5 separate regions of the Homo sapiens genome follow, and all the other regions are linked to region 2. The links are contacts of gene promoters, found by promoter capture Hi-C in blood cells and fetal thymus (Javierre and others, 2016). All regions are on one chromosome and are shown on one strand. The core of a region is centred on a gene start or on the middle of the fragment in contact, and the rest is flanking DNA. Distances in the headings are between cores, read along the strand shown. Region 1 has its middle 60 kb from the start of LINC00322. Region 2 holds the start of SIK1 (salt inducible kinase 1). Region 3 has its middle 20 kb from the start of CRYAA. Region 4 holds the start of HSF2BP (heat shock transcription factor 2 binding protein). Region 5 has its middle 38 kb from the start of CRYAA.

What was found. Contacts are between HindIII fragments. The CHiCAGO score rates a contact against its expected background, and 5 or more counts as called.
Region 1: a contact is called between a fragment that was not itself captured here and the fragment with the promoter of SIK1 in region 2, in 6 of 17 cell types (endothelial precursors, M0 macrophages, naive B cells and 3 more). The highest score is 6.7, in endothelial precursors.
Region 3: a contact is called between a fragment that was not itself captured here and the fragment with the promoter of SIK1 in region 2, in 11 of 17 cell types (endothelial precursors, M0 macrophages, naive B cells and 8 more). The highest score is 18.4, in endothelial precursors.
Region 4: a contact is called between the fragment with the promoter of HSF2BP here and the fragment with the promoter of SIK1 in region 2, in 3 of 17 cell types (endothelial precursors, M0 macrophages and M1 macrophages). The highest score is 6.4, in endothelial precursors.
Region 5: a contact is called between a fragment that was not itself captured here and the fragment with the promoter of SIK1 in region 2, in 8 of 17 cell types (endothelial precursors, naive B cells, M0 macrophages and 5 more). The highest score is 12.2, in endothelial precursors.

The regions. Positions count from the first base shown.
Region 1 is chr21:43,270,227-43,273,659 of GRCh38, forward strand. No RefSeq gene overlaps it. Among named protein-coding and RNA genes, the nearest start is that of LINC00322, 60 kb to the right of the region's middle. The HindIII fragment of the contact is 9,130 bases long and covers 1-3,433 here.
Region 2 is chr21:43,425,881-43,429,093 of GRCh38, forward strand. It overlaps SIK1 (salt inducible kinase 1), which reads right to left and starts at 1,251. Exons shown (of 14, transcript NM_173354.5): 1 at 1,130-1,251; 2 at 143-312. The coding sequence starts at 298. The HindIII fragment of the contact is 3,848 bases long and covers 1-3,213 here.
Region 3 is chr21:43,187,019-43,190,281 of GRCh38, forward strand. No RefSeq gene overlaps it. Among named protein-coding and RNA genes, the nearest start is that of CRYAA, 20 kb to the left of the region's middle. The HindIII fragment of the contact is 931 bases long and covers 1,012-1,942 here.
Region 4 is chr21:43,657,409-43,660,849 of GRCh38, forward strand. It overlaps HSF2BP (heat shock transcription factor 2 binding protein), which reads right to left and starts at 2,080. Exons shown (of 9, transcript NM_007031.2): 1 at 1,978-2,080; 2 at 653-912. The coding sequence starts at 688. RRP1B (ribosomal RNA processing 1B) reads left to right here and starts at 2,152. Exons shown (of 16, transcript NM_015056.3): 1 at 2,152-2,386. The coding sequence starts at 2,257. RefSeq lists a silencer at 2,185-2,374 and an enhancer at 3,095-3,144. The HindIII fragment of the contact is 5,137 bases long and covers 1-3,441 here.
Region 5 is chr21:43,204,998-43,208,223 of GRCh38, forward strand. No RefSeq gene overlaps it. Among named protein-coding and RNA genes, the nearest start is that of CRYAA, 38 kb to the left of the region's middle. The HindIII fragment of the contact is 2,709 bases long and covers 75-2,783 here.

The DNA of each region.
Region 1 (3,433 bases), core at 767-3,266, 150 kb before region 2:
CCTGGGGCCAAAAATGCTAAAAGGTGAAAGCAAACATGGCGGACCAAAGGTCTCTAACGTTTAAAAAACAGAAAGGACACAAAATTAGATAAGGGCAACGCCCCTTGAAATTTCTGGTTCGTTCTCGGGGTTCCAGCCCAATACTAATACTTTTCTCAACAAGAGCCAGGACACCTCAGGGCCCCACTGCCCCCAGGCCGGGCGTGGAGTCCAGGACGGGGCATCTTCTGTCCGCCCCACGCCTTCTCATAAATGTGTTTTCTGCGACGGGGTGGGACCAGCACTGGCAGAGGCAGCAGCCGCAGACCCTCCACAGAGCTGGGCACTGATTCAAACAGAGAAGCCAAGAAACTCAGACAGCGAAGGAGGAGGAGACACAGAAACCATGGAGGGGAATTTGTTTTAAAGGAGAGTAGGGGAAACTTAGGTGTTATTTCTCATCAAAGGAGTCTAATAAATTAAATAGGAAATAAAGTCATAATAAAGATTTCCAAAGTAAAAGCTGCCTTAGGGTGGCATTGGGGATGGCCTTGGACAAGGGGGAGTAGTGGTGCCGTGTCAGTGAATATGCTTAACAGAGACCCGAGACCATCGCAGAGTAACAGAGATGCCCACTGCAGATAATCAGCTGACGCCCGCCGCGGTGCCTGGGAAACTCAGACTCTGTTCACCCTGCGGCTTCTGCCATCCTCACAGCACAGTTTCCACGGCAACCCCATGAATGCGTGCAGGGCCGGGCATCTGGAAATAGGTGTCCAAAGTCACGTGCAACCAGCAGCAGGCTCAACAACAAGGAAGGCAGAGCGTCACAATGGCCACAGCAATAACCACAATAACAAGAGTGGCAGAGCTGAGGGCAGTCCCCAGTGTGCCAGGCGCCGAGCTGAGCTGGACATCGTCTCACTCACGGCAGGAGCCTGTCCTGCGGAGGAGGATGTGGAGGGCGGCCAGTTGTGTAGCTTACAAACTCCAGCCGGGACTCCAGCCTGAGATGAGCCGCTGCAGAGTCCACACTCCCAATCCCCAGGCCAGAAGTTCTTAACCTCCACCAGGACCACCTAGGAGCTGTTTGAAATACAGGCTCCCGGGCCCCATCCCCACAGCTTTGATCTATAGGTCAGAAGTGGAGCCACGAATCTGCATTTTGACAAACCCTCCAGATGATATGAGAATGGTGGGCCTCGGAGCTCACTGAGAAAAGTCAGACACCACCCCAGACAAGTCTGGTTTCACAGGGAGGGCCGGGCCACCCTGCACTCACCGGTTGGATCAGAAAGTCAACAGCAGGACTCCAGGTTCGTTGGAATTTGGCCATCAGCGATGCTTCCAAATTTGGAGCCTGGCACAAGCGCAGAGACACATCTGTCTCCGCATCTCACTCATCTCCTGCCATTCCAATTCTCCCCACGTCCACCAAGGTGGCCGCCGCCATTGTGGCCACTTCCCAGTTTCTGGCTGGATCTGCCCAGGTCGGGCCCCCAGCTGGCTGCAAATGCTGATGGAGAAATCGAGGGCCTTGCACAGGGACACGCCTCGAGTGGTGAGGAAAGGCCCAATGTGGGATGTGTTTTGAAGGCACAGTCAACAGAGCTAGCTGATGGGTTGGATGCGGGTGGGAGGGGACCCCCAACTCCGTGGAGATCCCGGGCTTGTGGCCTGAGTGGCCGGGTGGGCTCCAGTCCTCCTGACTGAAGTTGAGCCAACCAAGGGGGAAGAGGTGCAGGGGGTGGACCCATGAATTAAGAGCCGGCCACTAAGTCGAGGTGCCCATTGACACCCACATGGGGATTCCCTGCAGACTTGGGATACATTTTATTACAAGTCCAATATTATATGAACATTCATTGCTTTTACAGTAAGAAAAAAAGCCAAACCTTCTAGCCATGATTTTTTATAAAGAAACAAATTCTTGGCCGGGTGCCGTGGTTCATGCCTGGAATCCCAGCACTTAGGGAGGCCAACACGGGCAGGTCACCTGAGGTTAGGAGTTCGAGACCAGCCTGGCCAACATGATGAAACCCTGTCTTTATTAAAAATACAAAAAGTAGCTGGGCGTGGTGATGCACACCTGTAGTCCCAGCTACTCAGGAGCCTGAGGCAGGAGAATCACTTGAACCTGGGAGGTGGAGGTTGCAGTGAGCCTGGAGGGAGGCAGGGCCAGGAGAGAGACCAGGGGGTGCTCACTGAGGCTGTAGCCAGGGACACCACTTCTCCCAGGGTGGAAGGTGGGGTGTGGGGTTTGCCCTGGCCTGGGAGTGATCAAGCCTGGGAGAACCTCAAACGTCCCCACTGGCCATCCTCGTGTGTGGGCGTGATCTGTCATATTATCCCAGAGGTCCCAGCAAGCCTCCTGGCCCTGCTGCTCCCTCTTGGTCCCAGACCCCGACAGTGGGACTCCCAGGTGTGACTGCTGTTGAGTTTGCCTTCATCAGCACTGGGGTTGATCCCCCCGGAAATGGGGGAGTCCCACGTGCACAGAGAATCCCAGCAAGGACCTGGCAGGAAGGGATGGACCCTGCGGGGAGCCAGGGAGGGCTGGGGGGTGCCAAGTGGGCAATGATGACTCGGGACTGGGTAGGGATGGAGGCCATGGGGGAACTGAGCTGGGTTCTGAGCAGGTGAGGCCAGGAGCCAAGACCCAGGAGTCTTCATGAGTCCCGCCCCCTTTTCTATAAGGTGCAGGGTGTGGGGGACGTTGCTGTGAGACACAAGCAGCCATACCCCAGGAACAGGGGCCCGGGAGCTGGCCCTGCTCCCTGGATGTTCACTGTGGACTCTGTCAGGGTCGATGATGGAGCTGAGAGCTGGGGACAGAAACCCCTGTCCCCAGAAGCGAGATCACCGCATGTCTCAGTCCGTTCCCGCTGCTGTAATGATGTACCATAGACTGGTGGCTTCTAAGCATGGACATTTATTTTTCACAGCCTTGCAGGCTGCAAGGCTGAGCTCAGGGCACCAGCAGGGTCGGATTCCCGTGAGCGCCTGCGGCTGGGTTACAGACAACATCCTTCGTCTGTGTCCCTGCGTGTGGAAGGACTGAGGGAGCTCTGTGTGGCCTTTATCAGGGCGTGAATCCCACGAACACGGCTCCACCCTGAGGATCTCCCCACCTCCTCAAGGCCCCATGGCCTCCCAATGCCATCATGATGCGGTGAGGATTTCAACAGATGAGTTTCTGGGGGCACCAACATTCAGATCATAGCGGCCGGCAGGTGCCACAGCCCCCACCCCGGCCGCTGGCAACCCAGGCTTCCCTGATCTCCTGGGTACCAGTAGCCCCTAAGTAGCCAGGCTGGAGGGGGCAGCCAGGAAGGTGGTGGTGGCCCCAGGAGGCAGGCTGTAGGGACAGAGACCAATGCCACCCATGACAAATGCCACCAGGGCCTGGGGGCTCACGCTCACCCTGACAGCCTCGAAAAGCACCCTTCACCAA
Region 2 (3,213 bases), core at 1-2,500:
GAACTAAAAACGGTTACTATTTACCCACCACGACAATCAAGCCTGGAGCAGTGAATCTGCATGGGGTCCACCCGCCAAAGGTCGGGTCGCCCCGGGTCCAGTGGGGAGGCCCCGCCGGCTGGGTCCCACCGCCCCCACGCACCTGCGTTTTGGTGACTCGATGCCGCGCCAGCTTCACCACCGCGAAGTTGCCTTTGCCCAGGGTCCGCTCGATGTCGTAAAAACCCACCCGGAGGGGCTTCTGCTGGCCCTGACCCTGGCCCGCGGGGTCCGCGCTGAACTCCGACATGATAACCATGGCTCCGCGCGCACCTGCGGGGCCGCACAGAGCTCAGAGCCCACCAGCGCCCCCGCCGCCCGCGGTCGGCTCCATCCGTGCCCGCGGAGCCCCCAGTCCCCACGGGACGCAGGGACCTGCTCCCACGCCTGTCGCCCCCACTCTATCCACGGGCCCCTCCAGCCCCGTGGGAGGTGTGGACCCGCCCCCGCCGCCCGCTCCACCCGGACCCCCGACCCTCTTGAGCCCCGCGGGGCGCACGGACCCGCTCTCATAGAGGCCCCTGCCGCCCGAGTCCGGTTCCGTCCCGATCCCGGGACCCCCTGAGCCGGGATTCCACACTCGCCTCCCGCCGCCCGCTGTCGGTTCCGTCCCCACCCTCGACCCCTTTAGCACCTCTGGGCGCGGACCCGCTCCCACACCTGGCCCTGCCACCCGAGGTCGGCTCGATCCGGATCCCAGGACCGTCCCCTGCCCCGCTCCCACACCCTGCCCCCGCCGCCCGCGATCCGTCCGGTCCCCACCCCCGACATCCCAGGCACCTCGGGGATCGCGGACCCGCCCCCCACACCCGGTATCTCCGCCCGCGGTCGGCTCCAACCTGACCCCCGGCTCCCCAGCCCCTGAGCCCCGCGGACTCACTCCTACCCCGGCCCCCCAACAAAGGGGAGCCCGAGGGCGGCCAGGCCGCCAACCCCGCCCGCGAACCCCGCGCGCGCAAGGCCAGGGACCCTGCGCGGTGGCTGCAACCCCGAGCCCCGGCCCGGCGCCCGCGCGGAGCCCCCACGGCGGCCACCTCCGCCCGCCCGGAGCCCGCCGCTGCCGCCGCTGCCGCCGCTGCCGCCGCCTCACCTCCGCCGCCACCGGAGCGCCCAGGCCAGGAAGCCGCCCGCTCGGCCGCTGGCGCTGCTCGGGTGCCTACTGCTCCGGCTGCCGCCGCCGCTGCTGCTGCCTCCGGGGCCGCGCCGCATGTCAGCCCGGAGCCGCCGCGCTCCGCCGCACGCGGCGCCCGGCCCCGCCCCGGCCCGCCCCGGCCCGCCCCCCGTAGTCCCCGCCCCCTGCCCCGCCCCCGCCGCCCGGGCGGGGGCCGCCCATTGACGTCGCTTTGACGCCAGAGCGACGCGCGGCCGAGCGCCGGGCGGAGGGAGAGCGGGAGATCGGGCGGTTGCCAAGAGACTGGCGGCTCTGACGCGCGCGGGATGAGGCCGTTGCCCTGGCGACCGCGGGCCGGTGACGTCAGGGGCGCCCGCCGCCCGAGGCCCGCCCGCCTGCGCTCCGCCGGGCGCCCCCTCCCGGGCGCTGGGGGCACTGCGGGCGGCCCCACCGCCGAGGGCGCGCCCGCCCCTCCACGCTCGGGCACTCGGGCCGGGTCCCGCGGGCGCCTTGTGCTCGCTCCCTCCAGGAGGGGACGGCTCTCGGGCAGGGGTCGCCGGCCCCTCCACGCGGCCTGCGTTCGTCCAGACTCAGAGCCTCGGGACGTGCGGGGGCCCGGGGGCCTCGCGGGCTCGCGCGTGGGGCTGGCGGCGCGGATGCCCTGGGGCGCTGCAGACCCCGAGAGGCCGCTTGCCCGCGGGGACGTCAGCCGCTTTTGCTGTTAAAATCTGAAATGTTCAGCAAGTTAGAAACTTGAAACCTAAGGAAGCGTGACCGGCCGCTCTGGAAGCCCCCGCCGCGCGGCCGGTCCCGGCCCCGGCCCTCAGCGGCGCTGGCGTCTGCGCGTCCCGGGGCTGCCCCCGCAGCATGTGGGGCTGGGACCCTCTTCCCGCGCGGGCCCCGGGCGGACGCTGCGGGCGGTGACGGAGCCAGGCCGGCCGCCTGGGTAGGGGACGGGGGCGCGGGACCACTTGCTTGCCCGTGGCCGATGCCTCATCCGAACGGAAAACGTTTTCTTCAGGGGAGACAGAGGCTGTGGGCGAAGGTATTTTTTAAGCCTGAGGACCCATTTGGGAGTTAGATTCTGGATCGAGCCTAGGGTCAGTTTTCCTTGTGTTAAATAACACTACTTCACAGAAGGGGGAACGAGAATTCAGGGGAGTTGGCACAAAACTTGGAACCCTTCTCGGGAGGCTTTCCTGCCTGGACGGACGCCTGGGAGGAGGGCCCGGAGAAACGAGGATGAGCTTCTCCTCATTCGCCCGAGGGTCTGACCACAGATTTCCCAATCGCCACACACACACACACACACACACACACACACACACACACACGGGTTGTTTGGGAGTCAGTTGGTTTTCAAAGGCTTTCAAGGAAATGAAGAGTCCCAAAGTTTTCCTTAATCGTTCAGAGTGTTTTTCTTTGTCCCAGGTTTATATACCAAGAATACGGGGGAATATTTTTAGTTCCTTTCAGCTGAACAGTGTACAACTGCCTTTTTTCCTTTTGGAGGTCCCAACACCCTGTTAATCCGCTCCTAGGAGAACTAAACAAAAACAAGGCTGGACGTCGTGTCTCCCGCCTGTAATCCCAGTGCTTTGGGAGGCTGAGGCAGGAGGATCAGTTGAGCTCAGGAGTTTGAGACCGGCTTGGTTAACATAGCAAGACCTCACCTCTATAAAATACTTTTAAAATAGCCAGGTGTGGTGGCACACGCCTGTGGGGCCGGCTACTTGGGAGCCTGAGGTGGGAGGATGGCGTGAGCCTGGGAGGTTGAGGCTGCAGTGAGCTGTCATTGCACCACTGCACTCCAGCCTGAGCAAGAGAACAAGGCCCTGTCTCAAAAAAGAACAAAGATAAAAGGCGGGGTGGGGGAGAAACCAGGCCCCTGATCACACTCACCATTCAGTCCCTCAGCCTGTGACTTGAAATACTGCCCCCCGCATCCAGGAAGCAGGCTTCCCCACCCCTCCCACCCTAGCCAGAGTCTTCCAAAAGGTCTTAGGTATTTGCAAACACCTGGCTGGCTGTTTGGAAACATTGCATCAGCACCAAATAAAAAC
Region 3 (3,263 bases), core at 227-2,726, 240 kb before region 2:
ATATTCATGAGCTCCATGAATTCTCCCCGTGCTGGGGGCTCTTTTCTTGTGGCCTCGGGTGCAGCTGGTGCTGGCTCTGTGCAGGTCTCTGGTTTTATTGACTGGGTTGGTCCTTGGCCTCATCCTTCCGTGGCTCCATTTTCCTGCCCGCCCATCCCCTGGCCACCGCTCTGAGGGCTGCCGTGGGTCCTGCTGTTATGGGTCTTGTGCCACGTGCACCATAGCTAGCTGAGCAGTTGAAGCCCCATGGATGGTGTTGGGCCCAGGGCTTGGCTCCACAGGACACTCAGGCCAGCCCTGGGGTCTGCTGGGGCTGCTGCCCAGGATTCCTGGCAGTGCCGATGCGGTCAGTGCCTGGGAACCTTTACTGCAAGACAGTGTGCAGATACAGTGCAGGTCTCCTAGGGAGTCCAGACAGGCCTGAGGCGGCAGCTGGAGGCTCCTCAGCAGGGACTGGGCCCTGAGTCACAGGCTCATGTGCTCGGCTCGGAGCAGGAGTCAAGAGGTTTCCGCCTCTGCTTAGCCCCTGACTCACTGAGGCCTCCCTGGACCTCGGTTTCTTCTTCTGTGACATAATGGACTGGGGTGGGTTTGGAGGATCAAGGACACCTCTGAAAATATGATCAGAAGACATGGACTCATTTCTAGGCACACACACATGAACATACAACACAAGCATGCATACACAGTGCACACATGCATGCCTATGGGCATACATACATGAACACACACACGCACATGTACAACACACGCACACAGTGCACACACATGAGCACACACACGAACACATACACACATGTACATACAGTGCACACACGAGCACACATTCATGAGCAATAGACACATGCACACAACAGACATGCACACAGTGCACACATGCATGCACATGAGCACACACAGATACATACATGAATGCACATACATGCATACATGTGCTCACATGCAATGCACACACACATGTGTACACACAGGCACATTCACATACACTCAGGGAGTGTGTGGGCTGGGGCAAGCTTGTGCATAGATCCCAGGATCAAAACCTTGAGATCTTTTCCCAGCTGTGCTCACATCCCATGGGTGGCTCATGAAATTAATTCAGTGGGTCTCCACCAGCATCTTTAAAGAAGGAATAGAATAGAGTAGAGTGGAAGTATACATTGGTTCACAACCTTTACTTCAGTGCTACACACACAGGCACACACATGCGATACACACTGGATCATGGTGGAAAATTTATTTCCTACTGTGGCCCTTGGTCATTGAGTCTGAAAACACAGAGCCAGGACATCCCCTGATGGGGTGGCCGGCTGGGCACCCTCACTCCTCGCCACCCTCAGACCTAAGCAGTGGCCTGTGGGGTGGCTCTCGCCACAACTTGAGGTGGGAAACCCAACACATAGGAAAGTTACTTTCTTTTTGTTTGAGACAGAGCCTTGCTCTGTCACCCAGGCTGGAGAGCAGTGGCGTGATTTCGGCTCACTGCAACCTCCACCTCCCGGGTTCAATCTATTCTCCTGTCTCAGCCCCCCGAGTAGCTGGGACTACAGGGGCCTGCCACCATGCCCAGCTAACTTTTTGTATTTTTAATAGAGATGGGGTTTCGCCATATTGGTCAGGCTGGTCTCGAACTCCTGACCTCAGGTGATCTGCTCGCCTCAGCCTCCCAAAGTGCTGGGATTACAGGTGTGAGGAACGTTACTTTCATTTCCTGATGTTTGAGGTGTGGTCTCTTCTGGTTCCTTTTTTATTTGATTTGATTTTCTAATTCATCTACTTGAGGGCTGAGAACGTCTCTTCTCTTCCTCTTCCTCTTCCCCCGCCCCCACCACCCTTCTTAACTCCTCTTCTCTCTTTTCTGTGTGCAGAGACATTAGGCTGATGCTCTCCCGGCCCCCTTGGTAATTGTACCAGTTGGCAGCCTTGCCTCTGCGTCCCTGTGGGAAGCTTGGCTCGGCCGGGAGCTCTTTGGCGTGGCAGAGCTCCCTCCCGGCCCCCACCGGGTCTGGGAGGATCTTGCATTTTACAGAGTGCCCATGCCAACCTCCCTTGGCAAGCTCGTGGTGTTTCTCTGCATTTGCCAAGAAATGGAGCAAAACCCAACTCAGTTTGCTGGGCTCTTCGGGGATACAGGAAAGAAAAAAGAATGGCTCCACACCCTTTCCCTGAACTTTCTGTACTCATTATTTTCTTCTGTCTGTCTATTTTTTGCTCTAAAATCACAGGGCTTTCGTTATTTGATGTCTTTCGTGTATAAATACACGTTGTCCCCAGACTACTGTTTTTTCAAACGCTTTTGTGATTTAAAACAATTTTATTTTTATTGTAAAATATATGCTACATACAGTAGAGTACATACAATACAGATATACATTTTAAAGAATGGTTAGCCTGCTGAGTGCAGTGGCTCACGCCCATAATCCCAGCACTTTGGGAGGCTGAGGCAGGAGGATCACTTGAACTCAAGAGTTCGAGACCAGCCTGGGCAACATGGCAAAACCCCGTCTCTACAAAAAATACAAAAATTAGCCAGGCATGGTGGTGCATGCCTGTGGTCCTAACTATTTGGGAGGCTGAGGTGGAAGGATTGCTTGAGCCCAGGAGGCAGAGGCTGTGAGCTGTGATCGTCCCACTGTACTCCAGCCTGGGCGACAAAGTGAGACCCTATCTATCTCAAAAAAAAAAAAAAGGGGAACTTCTTCCCAGATTAAGAAATAGAACCTTAACCAGAACCTTAGAAGTGGCCTGTGCACCCTTTGGGATCGCATCTCATTCGTTCATTCATTCATTCGTTCATGCATGCAGCAAGTCTTTATTGAGTCCCTGCTATGTGCTAGGCTTTGTGCTAAGCATTTGGGATATAGCCGCAGACGAAACAGATCAAAACCCCTGGCTGTGTGGCTCTGCATCTTACCCTGCAGGTAAGAGACATTTTGACTTTTTGTGATGTTCATTCCTTTGCTTTGTCTTAGGGTTTCCATGTGGGTGGGAATGCATCCCTAAACAACATCATGCTTCCTTTTGTGGTTTTGGAACTTGAGGTAAACAAGGTGATACTGCGTGGACCCGGATGGGATTGCTTCTCTCCCTTGGTCTTGTCTTGCATGTGAGATTCACCCCACAGCTGTGCGTGGCCATGGGCCATTTGTTTTCATGCGTCTATATAGTGTTCCACTGTTTATCGACTTATCCATTCTGTTGCTGGTGAACATCAGGGTTGCTTCTGATTTTTGGCTATTGCAGAAAATGCTGCTGCAAGTGTTATT
Region 4 (3,441 bases), core at 830-3,329, 230 kb after region 2:
CAACTTTTTATCACTGCAGCACCAAACTAATCAGGAGGAAAAGGAAGTCATCTGGTTTCCTACTGGGTTTGCCAAGCCCTCCGCCCGTGATCTCATCTACTATTCACCCCAAGCCTCCAAGATTGTCTAGATGGAAATTAAGGCACGGGAGCTAGATGACTCTCAATGCAGCACAATTAATAACGGGTGGAAGCAGGATGTGAACACGGATCTGGCCCCAGTCCAAGCGCCTTCTCCATCGCATGCAATCAGTTACAGTTATAAAATCGATGGAGGGCAGATTCTCTCTAAGCCTGACGCTAAGTCCCGAAGCAGGGGGCCAGGGCCTTCGGAGGGGAACTGGGCTTCCACGGAGCAGAGAAGAGAGTGACCATCCATCCCACGCTCCCATGCCCGCTTTGGCGCCACTGAGTGCCCCCACCACGCGCAGCCTCACAGACCGGGTCCCCGCGTGGGTTTGGAGGCGAAGTCGCCTCCCGCCCCAGGTCTCCACCCCGCTCCGGCCCAGCCCACGCCGTTAGGGGAGGAAGTCTCCAGGCTTCCCCCAAGCACGCGACAGCGAGCCGTCTCCGAGCGCACGGGGCGAGGCCCTGAGGGGAGCGAATGGCGACGGTTCAAACACGCTGGCGTCGGCCAGGGCTTCCTCACTAACCCGGCAGGCCTCCTCAGCGGCGCCCGCTTCGCCCATGGCCGCTGCCGCCTCCGCTCCGTTCGCCTGAGCGTCGGCGCGCCCTCTGACCCCTCACGCCAGAAAGCGCGGGAACGAATCCACGCCGGGGGTCGGGAACGGAGAGCCGCCAGGCCCAAACCTCCCAGAATTTGCGCAGTATTCTCGGCCTAGAGAGCGAGGAGTGGCCTTGGCGAGGTCCCTCTTTGGCTCTTCTGGCTTAGCCGGGGTTTTAAACTTGTTATCTGCAAAGCAGAAGGAAAGTCAGCCCCTGATGTAAGTGTCAAGTAAAATAAATCGGATGGGTCCTTTCCTGTTTGGCGAGGAATGCTACACTAAGGGGGACTGCGTTCAAATGGGCAGTCTTTGCTGGAAACCTCGCCTCCGCGCGCCTTCCCTCGCTCGGATTCAGGCGCTTTTACGTTAAGGGTTGAATTTTTGTGTCAACAGGCACCTCGGGAGGTCGCCTAGACAACTGAGCGGAGCAACTGAGATAACCCCCGCTACGTGTGGAGTGACCTAGTCCATTAACTTGCCCCAGCACGCCCGCTGAGTCCGCAAAATATAGGATGGCCTCGGGTTTTAGATGAACCCAAAGCTAAGATTTCTTCCCTCTCTGGAATTAGCAAGCAGCCCGCCCTGCCCAACTCCCCTGGAAGCGCGCGTGCTCGCCAGGCCTCGGGACGCCTGCGCGGGCGCCCTTGCACTGGCACCAGGGCTCCGGGGTAGGGGCGCACCGATCTGCCCAAGCCTCTGCAGGCACTGGAGGAAGGCGAGCCCTCCACCCGCTCAACAGGCCCCAGTGCCGGCCTTTCCTTCCAGTCTCAACTCCACCCGGGGGCCCGGGGGCTCCACAGTTAAAAACTCCACGCCACGGAGATCGCAGGTAAGCTGCTGGCTCAACGAGGTGTGCTAAATGGGATTAAAGATCCTGGACCGTGGCCAGGCGCGGCGGCTCAAGCCTGTAATCCCAGCGATCAGGGAGGCCGCCGCGGGAGGATTGCTTGAGCCCAGGAGTTTGAGACCAGCTTGGGCAACATAGCGAGACACCGTCTCTACAAAAAAATAACAAATAGTGGGGCGTGATGGCGCGCGCCTGTAGTCTCAGCTACTTGGGCGGTCGAGATGGGAGGATCGATCGAGTCTGGGAGGTCGAGGCTGCAGTGAGCCAGGATCACCGCCAAGATCGCGCCACTGCATTCCAGCCTGGGCGACAGAGGGAGACCCTGTCTCAAAAACAAACAAAAAATCCTAGACCGTTTACAAACAGCCTTCCGTCTCTTCCTGGTCAAGTCCTAACCCTGGCTAACCTCGCCGTCTACAGCCTGAATTTTGGCAACCGAAAGGCAGCGCCGGCGCCACGTGCACACGGGCTGGGCCGCTCCGCCAGCTGCCAGGGCCACTGCCGCGCTCACTCCCAGAGCGCGCTGCGAGCCGCGGCGCCTTTGTGACGCCATCAGCCCGCGCGCCGCCGCCGCCGCCTTCTGTGCAGTCGCGGCCCGGGCGGACGGTGGCTGGCTGCTCCGCAGCGCTCGGCTGGCTGCAGCGGCACCGCGGGTTGCGCGGCCGGGGATGCTCCAGCGGGCGCGATGGCCCCCGCCATGCAGCCGGCCGAGATCCAATTTGCCCAGCGGCTGGCGTCCAGCGAGAAGGGCATCCGGGACCGAGCGGTGAAGAAGCTGCGCCAGTACATCAGCGTGAAGACGCAGAGGGAGACAGGTGGGCGCACGGCCGCGGTCAGCCGCGCCACATGGCGGGCCGGGGGCCGGGGCTGGGGCTAGGGCCAGGGCCCCGGCACGGAATGCGGCTTCCACGTGTTGTCGTGACACCCAGCGTGTGCTTCGGTTTCCGCGCTGCCGGAACCGCTTCTTGCTGTGTCTAGTGCCTTTTTACACTTAAGGAAACGGGTTGAGGGGGTTCCGTTACTTATGAAAGTCACAGTAAGCGGGGAAGCTGAGAAAAGACCCACATGGGTCCGATTCCCCAGCCGGCATCTCGAATCACTGGGCTGCCCTGATTTGCCCTGGTGTCCGGTCGGTGATTGCCGCCTTCCTTTGACCAGCACCTTTACGTGACGGGGCTGCAGGAGAGAAGACAGACAAAATCACTACCCTCGAGGATCTATTAGTAATAAAGCAAGGAGGCAAACAGGCAAATAAAGTAGACCTTGTGTAAGTGTAGTAAAGGAAATGAAAACCAGGTAGCAGGCCGGGCGCGGTGTCTCACGCATGTAATCCCAGCACTCTGGGAAGCCGAGGCGGGCGGATCACCTGAGGTCGGGAGTTCGAGACCAGCCGGACCAACATGGTGAAACCCCGGCTCTACTAAAAATACAGAATTAGCCGGGCATGGTGGCGCATGCCTGTAATCTCAGTACTCGGGAGGCTGAGGCAGGAGAATCGCTTGAACCTGGGAGGCGGAGGTTGCGGTGAGCCGAGATCGCAGCATTGCACTCCGGCCTGGGCAACAAGAGCGAAACTCCGTCTCAAAAAGAAAAGAAAAGAAAAAAGGAAAAAGAAAACCAGATAATAGCAAAAAGGGAAGGAGGTTGCTCTTCTTGATAGGCTGTTCTGGGAAGGCCTCTCTGGGCTGATAATCAGCTCAGATCTGAAGAGAAATGAGCGGAAACCGCCTATGCAGAGGCAGGAAAGAGCTTCACGTGCCCTAGGAGTGGTTTGAAAGACCAATAAGTTGGGGTTGGGGGGGCGAGTGTTATGAGATGAAGTTGGAGATGTAGGCAGTGGCCAGATCACACAGGGCTTTGTAGTTTAGAT
Region 5 (3,226 bases), core at 179-2,678, 220 kb before region 2:
TTTAGAGAGGGAGATGACAGTGGCCTTCCCAGGCTTTGAGAGGTGAGTTGAATTTTCTGTCTCGATAAAGAGAAAGCTTTTCTCTTGGGTTCATATATATAAATAGCCAGTTGTCTAAAACACGTATAAAAACCCAATCTTACAAAATGTAAAAAATAAAAAAAAGCCAATTGTCTTTGGGTTTTCTAAATTTTCCTGCAAGTTCTGTGTGTGGGGCGGTGGCCCCTAATTTTAGTTAAATTTGCTTTGCTTTTCTCAGACGGCCTCCCTTATACTGGAACTTGCAGACTTTTCTGTCGGCCTCTGATCTGACCTCCAAAGGAAGTGGCTGAAGGGGATGGTGGAGGAGGCCAGGACTTCAGGGACCCACAGCCATCACCTCCCTCCCCTGCCCCCTACACACCAACTCTCTGGAAAACAGCAGGTAGAATTGTTCCCACTGAGTGGTCAATGCCAGAGGCCACATCAACATGCTATCTATGAGAACTTTCCAGATCTTAGTCAAAAGAAATCAAAGTTCTAATGCTGGAGTTCCAGGCTCCAGCTGGGCTGCTGGTGGGGAGGAACCCTGTTGTTGGGGACAGAACCCATTCGTGCCCTCCTGGGCTACCCCCGGAATCTAGCCGTGCATAGGCTTCTGCATCCACCATCCGGTTCTGGGCAATGTAAATTTCACATGTGCGTGATCCAGGTGGGCTCCCCGTGTGTTAGCTTGTTTTCACACTGCTATAAAGAACTGCCTGAGGCCAGGCGCAGTGGCTCACACCTGTAATCCCAGCACTTTGGGAGGCCAAGGAGGGCGGATCACGAGGTCAAGAGATCGAGACCATCCTGGCCAACATGGTGAAACCCCATCTCTACTGAAAATATAAACATTAGCTGGGCGTGGTGGCGGGTGCCTGTAATCCCAGCTACTCAAGAGGCTGAGGCAGGAGAATGGCGTGAACCTGGGAGGCAGAGGTTGCAGTGAGCCAAGATCCTGGCACTGCACTCCAGCCTGGGCGACAGAGCGAGACTCTGTCTCAAACAAACAAAGAAGCAAACAAACAAACAGAACTGCCCGAGGCTGGGTAATGTAAAAAGAGAAGAGGTTTAATTGACTCCCAGTTCCACATGGCTGGGGAGGCCTCAGGAAACTTTCAATCATGGCGGAAGGCAAAGCGGGAGCAAGTACCGTCTTACATGGCAGCAGAAGAGAGAGAGAGCGAGGGGGGAACTGCCAATCACTTTTAAACCATCAGATCTTGTGAGAACTCCCTCACTGTCCTGAGAACAGCATGGGGAAACCATTCCCATGATCCAATCCCCTTCCACCAGGTCCCTCCTCCGATACACAGGGATTACAGCTTGAGATCAGATTTGGGTGGGGACACAAAGCCAAACCATATCATCCAGGCTGCAGGAAGGGCCACTGGGTGGACAACAGAGGCAATGACCACACGTGCCCCTCTGTGGTGTTTGAGGGGACTCCCCCAAGGCAGACTGGGTCAGCTCAAGTGGATTGTGGGTGGACACTCAGGTGACCAGTTTAGGCGACCGAGCTAAGGGCCTTTACACCTCCTCCTTCTTGAGCCTTGGACTTTGGTGCCCACCTTCCATGGGGCAGACAAAGGGTGGTGCCCTGCTGGGACCGGAGCCCTGCCTGGAAGCCAGAGTAAATGGCACATCCATTTTGGACTGGTGGCTGCTCTTGCAGGTGCTGGAGCTCTTTGTCCTACTGGCGCAGCTCTCCAGCGCCTCCGTCACTCTCGCCAACAGGTTTGTCACGGTGCAGGTGTTTTCTTTTCCTCTCCTACAAGCTGACCTAGTGGAGCTCGCTGGGGGAGGTCAAGTGTCTTTCGTCCCCGTTGCATCACAGGACAGTCTTTATTATTAGCCAAGGGAGGGGGTAGGTGGGGGAGAAGCCAATCAAGCCTTTGGAGGGTCTGCAGCTGAATCGGCACTCAGACCCCCGTGGTGTGAAATGGGGATGGGGGGACGAGTGGGCGCAGCCACTGGGAGCATTGATGGAGGTGAAGAGAGGGGAGCGAAGCAGCTGAGCAGTTCCAAAGGCGTGTTGTGTTTCTCTTTTCTGCCTCTTAGGCCAGTTAGTGGGACACGGCCAGTCCCTTCTTCCCTCACCTTTCAGCGGGAAGGTGCCACCTGCCCAGTGAGCCGTCGGGATGACCCAGGGCAGGCACTGCAGCCTCTGGCCAAGCAGGTGCCCAGGCAGCACTGGTAATCATATGTTTATTGTTCTTTTCTGCAGTAGCAGTCACCCCCTTCTCTCTCTCTCTCTCTCTCTTTTTTTTTCTGGGGGACAGAGTCTCGCTCTGTTGCCAGGCTGGAGTGCAGTGGCGCAATCTCGGCTCACTGAAACCTCCACCTCCCAGGTTTGAGCAATTCTCCTGCCTCAGCCTCCTGAGTAGCTGGGACTACAGGTGTGCACCACCACACTCAGCTAATTTTTTGTATTTTTAGTAGAGACAGAGTTTCACCATGATGGCCAGGATGGTCTTGATCTCCTGACCTCGTGATCCGCCTGCCTCAGCCTCCCAAAGTGCTGGGATTACAGGCGTGAGCCACTGCTCCCAGCCACCCCCTTCTCTTAAACGGTTCCTCTCTGACCCATGCTCCCACGCGGATCCATGAACAAGAAGGGCTGGGTCTGTGGCTGGGATTTGGGGTCCTTCCAGAAGCTGCTTTTCCACTCTTTTGGCCAAATGTTCCCCTTCCCCTGTTGCCAAAACTGATTTTATGGTCTAATTAGATGAGGGAGACACCTCTCTGGAGCCTAGGATTGAAGCTTCAAAGCTATTTTCAAGGCTGACGTTGGAAGATCCTGGAAACACTGGCCCTGTTCTGGGCATCATTCATTTCCCGGAGACATGACCAGCAAATCTGTTCAGATGAGACAAGTCCATGTGGCTTGAGGGCAGTGGGAGTGGATGCTGGTGAGACTGTCCTGATGGTGTCTGTCCAGGGAAAAGCAGGAGGACTCCTGTTGCTGAGTGCACCCAGCTCGAAGCTCGGGGTTCCCCCTGCCTGGGAGGAACAGGGGGTCCCAGCTCAGCAGTGGAAAGAAGCTCGGGGTTCCCTCTGCCTGGGAGGACCAGGGGGTCCCAGCTCAGCGGTGGAAAGAAGCTCAGGGTTCCCTAAGCCTGGGAGGACCAGGGGGTCCCAGTTCAGCTGTGGAAAGGAAAACTGGCCCCGCCGGATGGAGGATGTGTGTGGGGGGCTGCCTGGG